2 separate regions of the Homo sapiens genome follow, and region 1 is linked to region 2. Evidence: promoter capture Hi-C in 16 types of primary human blood cells and fetal thymus (Javierre and others, 2016). All regions are on one chromosome and are shown on one strand. The core of a region is centred on a gene start or on the middle of the fragment in contact, and the rest is flanking DNA. Distances in the headings are between cores, read along the strand shown. Region 1 overlaps LOC107985151 (a long non-coding RNA gene). Region 2 holds the start of ZNF516 (zinc finger protein 516).

Region 1 (2,978 bases), core at 385-2,884, 160 kb after region 2:
GAAGAGATCATGAGAGATTTAGAAATCAGTCTCTTGGAGGTAGATGGGTTAGAGGAATGAGTGGCAAAAAAAAAAAGACACAATATATAAAGGGAAGAAAACTGAAATCAGAAAAAGAAAGAAAAAGAACTTTCAGAAATATATGTTCTATTTAACACAGTGGATTGACCAGATGGATTTTATCTTCTCTTTTACCTAAAGCTCTGCATAATAGTTTTAAAGATATTATTCATAATAACAAAGAAAATGAGAGGAAAAACAGCAGCCAGTGAGATATTTCAACAAGGTACAGAAAGCAGGAACAGATGAGAGGTGGTAAAGTACAGGGAACGTGTCTACAGCTGAAGATGTGGACAGGAAGAGGTCGTTTACCACAAGGAGCCCAACAAAAAGGGTCTCCTTCCATAGCTGGGCCACAGGGGGAGCTCTTGCCCTCCTTCTCCATCTCACAGGGGTGGGGGCGCTCCATGCAGGGGGCCCAGGAAGAGTTTCCTCAGTGCAGGAGCCCCTGACCACCTGCTCCCAGACAATCAGAAGCCATGGGTGGGCGGCCTTCCCCCGACAGGGGAAATGAATGATGCCCCTAGCCCACAGGCCCTGCCGTGACTCAGTCTGGTTTTTAGTACCTTGGTCGTCAATGTGAAAGGACAGTCTAGCACCACAAAAGATTTGATTTAAAAAAAATAATGAAAGTTACAAAAATTAACATAGAGGAAGCAGTCTATAAAGAGAGCAGAAAAAAACTTTTAAAAAATCTATATTAACATCCTTAGGCAAATGCTGCATTCATAAAACAGCAAGATGAACGCACACGTGCACGCAGACAGAGACTAAATCACAGCTCCTGGAATTTGTAGGAATGACAACTAAAATAAAACAAAATTTCTGGCCAGGCGCAGTGGCTCACGCCTGTAATCCCAGCACTTTGGGAGGCTGAGGCGGGTGGATTACAAGGTCAAGAGATCGAGATCATCCTGGCCAACATGGGGAAACCCCATCTCTACTAAAAATACAAAAATTAGCTGGGCGTGGTGGCGGGCACCTGTAGTCCCAGCTACTCAGGAGGCTGAGACAGGAGAATAGCTTGAACCCAGGGGGCAGAGGTTGCAGTGAGCTGAGATCGCGACACTGCACTCCAGCATGGCGACAGAGCGAGACTCCGTCTCAAAAAAAAAAAATTCTGTAGAAGGTCTGAAGGATGAAGTCAAGTAAAAGTTCACAGAACTAACAAGTGCCCAAATGTAAGAGACCTGCCAAGGACCAGCAGAATGAAAGGAGACATGATCACAGGTCTGTCGTCATGGAATTCCAAGACGCCATCATTCAATAGATGATCTTGAGGGCTTTAAAATGGGAACAACAAACAAGCAGCTCCCAGGTGAAAAGGCATTAGAATGGAAGTGAGTTGCTCAGTCGCAGGGAGGCTGGAAGATGCCGCAGTGCCTTCAATATGGTCACTGTGGCCTGTATTGCAGCCTGGGAGACACAGCTGCCCAGGAGTTGATCTTTGTTGAGGCTGCATGGTGCGTGTTCACAGGGGTCCATTATGCTACTCTCTCTTTTTTTTATATATGTTTAGAGTTTCAAAAATAGAAATTTTAGGACCTACTGTGAAAACCAGCCAAAAACAACAAGGCAACAATAGGAGAAAGTGAATGAAGCCAGCGTTGCCGGTACACACAGATGACGTAAATGGATCGGGTCAGTGGTCAACACCAAAAGAACGGCCTGGAGGAGGGTCTGGCTCTATTGGACATTTTCTTTGATAAAAATAAAAAGTAAATAGGGAAATGCTAAGTGGAAAGCTATAGTAAAACTGTAGTTTTATATCAAACCATAAAACATGAAGGTAAAATAAAGACGTGTAGTCCTGCCGGGCCCTCAGAACCGTGCCCCTCTGCACCCTTCTTAGGATGCTACTGAAGGATGCCTACCTTCTGGAGGAGAAGAGGAAGGCCCCAACCCTGGGAAACAGGGTCCCACAGATAACAGTAACAGTGGGAGGGTCCAGGAGTGACTTCAGCTGCTCATCAGGTCCAGGGAGCGATCAGTCCAGGCTGATCTGCCCCTCCAAACACTCCATCTGCCCCCCGCCCCATCTCCCTTCCCATCTGTCTACAAGAACACAAAGAGGGGCGAAGATAAGGCAAAGGGATGGGGCTGTGGGTCCTAGGTGCAGTAGACACAGCTATGGCTCCCAATCAGGTGTCTCTCCCAAAACCAAGTTCATGGGGTGCACACCAAATGGGGACTCACAGTGATTAGAGCTGTTTTCATAGGAGAGAGGGGTCCCAATCCCCAGGGAGATGCTGGCCCAGCCAATCCAGTTGTATTTGGAGGGAGAGACCAGAATGGGGAGGAGGAGCAGGCAGAGGATGTCTGTACCAGCTGCCATCACTGTCTCCACTGTGAGGATGGTTCATTTTCCTTCACCAGTTGGCCTCCTTGGGAAGTAGCCAGGAATGGTTGGTGCCTCTTCCAAGAAGGCCTGGCAGCACGAGGGGCTTGTTGCAGCAAGAGGCTGGGGGTGAACAGCCTCAGGCAGGTGGGGCCCCGCCCTGGAGGGGCTGGGGACAGAGTTGGAACAGGCCATCTGGAGTCAGCTTACCTCTTTAGGGACACGAACAGGGACACCCCTCACCCGTACACTGCGTACATCCATACTCTGAAGAATTCACGCCATGCCCAGGGGGGACCAGCATCCAGCCCCCTGTATTGGTGTGTCACCTGTGTTTGCCACAAGAACGGCAACATCCAAACTTCATCTTCCTGAAGTCACAATTCAGCTAGATCACAAAAACAGGGTCTTCGCGAGTGGTGCAGCTGTAAGGTGGCAAAGCGTATGAGGACTCCACAGCACAGGAGAAATAACAAACACTCATATACTGCCAGGTCTACTAGGTGAAGGAAAAAGGTTTTTAAAACTCCCTTTCTGAAAGAGGAAAGCAAAACAACAGAATGTATATATTTTTAATGTT
Region 2 (2,700 bases), core at 60-2,559:
TTGATCTTTGCACACCCGGAGACCCGGTGACTCTTTATCAGCGGAATGAGTAAGACACACACACAGCCCCCAGAGCTCCCGGTCTGCTGCGGGAAGCTTATTAACGCTGATAATAGATGAGGCTGACTTACAGACCCACATTTTTCGGGTAAAAGGCTGGTTCCCTCTGGTCCCTAATTGCGGGGGTCCACTGGCTTTCCTCACCACACACATAAACTGCTGCTTTTAAATACCCCACTCGGCTGCCATTTAACAAACTTATTCATACAAAGTTTCGTTAAAACTTGAGGCGGTTTAATCTAAATACTGATCGTAACTATTCAGTCTGTTAGTTCTCCCTGGAAATGGCAGCGGAGGCGCCTCCCCCCACCTCCCGCCCAACCACACACACCCCACCGCATTCTTCCTTCATACACCCGGGTTCATCTCGCCACCGAGGCCTCCCCCACCCGCACCCGGCGGGGCGCAGCTCCGAGGAGTCCCTGCCCACCCCTCTCCGAGTCGGTGCCAGACCCTCGCCCCCACCCCCACCCCCGCCCGAACTTCCCTTCCAGGACCTCTCACTTCTTTAACGTTAGGGTCACTTAGAAGCTCCCAGCAGACTGGCAAGCAGCCGGGGAGGGGGCCGTAAAAAACAAGGCCACCCCCACCTCCACGCAAACACGTCCCCTAGGCAGCAGCGCGCGGTGCCCACAGGCATCGATCCCATCCGCCAAACCCTTAATAATTGAAGCGGCTCCTCGGGCCCGCAGCCCCATCACCCACCTTCATTAGCCGGAGCGTTTTACTTTAAAGTAAGGCAATTTGCTCTTTGTCTCCTAATGGATGGAGAGCGCATCCGAGCTCCCCTCCTCCCGCGTCGCCTTTGACAAAGTGTACAAAGCCAGAGCCTCTTCCGCGCTCCCACCCCGGCCCCCACCCCGCCCCTCCACTGCGGTAAAAACCACCTCCCGGGCGCTCGCCCCGCCGCCCGAAGTTGCATCTTCCCCTATCCTGGAATTGACGAGCAGAGCAACTACCCACCGGGAAAGCCAAGTAGCCCTCCCCGCGCCCGGGGGGCCCCTCCCCGGCGCACCCCCCTCCCCAGCGCCTCCCCCCCTACCCCCAGCGGCGCACACCAGAGTACGGGGCACGTCGGGGCTCCGGGCCCCGCGCCCACCGCCCGCCCGCGGCCCCTGCGGCGCAGCCCTCCCCCCGCCCGCGGCCCCTACCTTGGCAGGGAGGCGGCGGGCCTGGGGAGGAGGACGCGCACGCCCCGCGCATCTGAAGGTGAAGCCGAGCGCCCGCGGCGCGGAGCCGAGCGCTGCACTAGACCGACCGCGCCAGCTGCGCCCGGGCGCGGGGGACGCGCGAGGGCGCGCGGGGCCCGCCACGCGCCCGGCCCCCTCCTCGCGCCGCCCGCGCGCGCCCCGGACGCGTCCGCCCCGCGGGGGCCCCGGCGCGAGCCGGGCTCGGGGGGCTGCGCGGCACGGGGAGGGGGCCGGGCGCTCACGGCCCGGCGCAGGCCGGAGGCTTCCCCCAGCCTGGAAATGGTCTGCCCTGTAGGAAACGCACACTCCACTATTGTCTCATCAGCACAAAGTTCTGCCACACTGAGGGGACAGTCTGGAGGCTTGCAGTGACTCAGACACAGCCAATTCCTCCCCTAATAGCACTGAATCACGGTTCCAGCGGCCAGTGGTCGCCCCTCGTCAAGGTCTAAGGCTGCTGCAGCCCCGGCTCCCGGAGGCCGTTTCCGCGCGCACACGCGCATCCATACGTACAGACGTGCTCGGGATGCGGGTCCCGCCGGCGGGTACCTGGGCACTGCGCCCCATCTGGACTGAAATGGGGACACCCCTTCGGGGGTCCCAGGTGCGTGTGCATTACACACGGCGTAGCGTGTGCGTGTCACTCAACTTCCTGGTAAATGCCTCTGGGGGTGTTCAGATGCAGGATCAATACATTAAGTCCTGAATCAAGGGTCACAGAGGTCCCGCTGGAAAGACTTCAAACAGCGGCTCTGCCACCCGGCCATTTAAAAATGAAGGGGTTGTTTACCGGTAGCCTCGAAAGTTCAACTCTTATTTTTCTGTTCTTAAAACTTCATTTCTTCACCTCACCTACTCCCCACGAGCAGTAGTTAGTTGTAATAAGTTGAGTCTGGGACTAGAAATCCTAATTTGACTCCAAAACGCTCTCCTGTTACAGGGCAGGGATGGCCGGGGTGGGGGAGGGGAGGGCGGGCGCGCGGGGGCGGGGGAGGGGCGGGTCGGAGCTAGCGAGGGCGAGCGCCCCTTCACGGCCGGTGACGTAGACCCGGGGAGCTGCGGCCTGCGGAGGGGTAACACTATCTTCTCCCACCAGGCTCCTGGCCGTATTGTTCTCCTTCTCCTCGTGATAACTCCGCAGTGGAGGTGGATTCCGTCCAAGACGCCCAACGTGGCTCCGCGTAGCAATCAGCGCTGCAATCCTGGCGGTTACCTCAGCGGCGGCGTCTCTCTCTGCGCCTCACACTCGCAGCCCGCGGCCCTCCCCAACTTAGGGCGTTTACAAAAGAAACTACTCCAGACGCGCTGCAAAGGGAGGCGCATGTGCCCGAAAGCTGGCGATCAGACGGGGGGGGCATTCTGCATGTGTGATGTTTCTGGGGGCGGTGGGGAGTGTGTGTCGGGGTCGGGGGGCGGGGGGGAGTCAGGCAGAAAGACAGGGACAACCTCC

What was found. Contacts are between HindIII fragments. The CHiCAGO score rates a contact against its expected background, and 5 or more counts as called.
Region 1: a contact is called between a fragment that was not itself captured here and the fragment with the promoter of ZNF516 in region 2, in 4 of 17 cell types (M0 macrophages, monocytes, M2 macrophages and 1 more). The highest score is 7.9, in M0 macrophages.

The regions. Positions count from the first base shown.
Region 1 is chr18:76,658,356-76,661,333 of GRCh38, forward strand. LOC107985151 (a long non-coding RNA gene) reads right to left here. Exons shown (of 3, transcript XR_001753506.1): 1 at 2,609-2,978. Among named protein-coding and RNA genes, the nearest start is that of LINC01927, 21 kb to the left of the region's middle. RefSeq lists an enhancer at 352-853. The HindIII fragment of the contact is 3,630 bases long and covers 1-2,978 here.
Region 2 is chr18:76,493,933-76,496,632 of GRCh38, forward strand. ZNF516 (zinc finger protein 516) reads right to left here and starts at 1,310. Exons shown (of 7, transcript NM_014643.4): 1 at 1,212-1,310. It overlaps ZNF516-DT (ZNF516 divergent transcript), which reads left to right and starts at 1,407. Exons shown (of 2, transcript NR_164145.1): 1 at 1,407-1,854; 2 at 2,347-2,700. RefSeq lists silencers at 340-429, 1,130-1,229, 1,360-1,419. The HindIII fragment of the contact is 7,170 bases long and covers 95-2,700 here.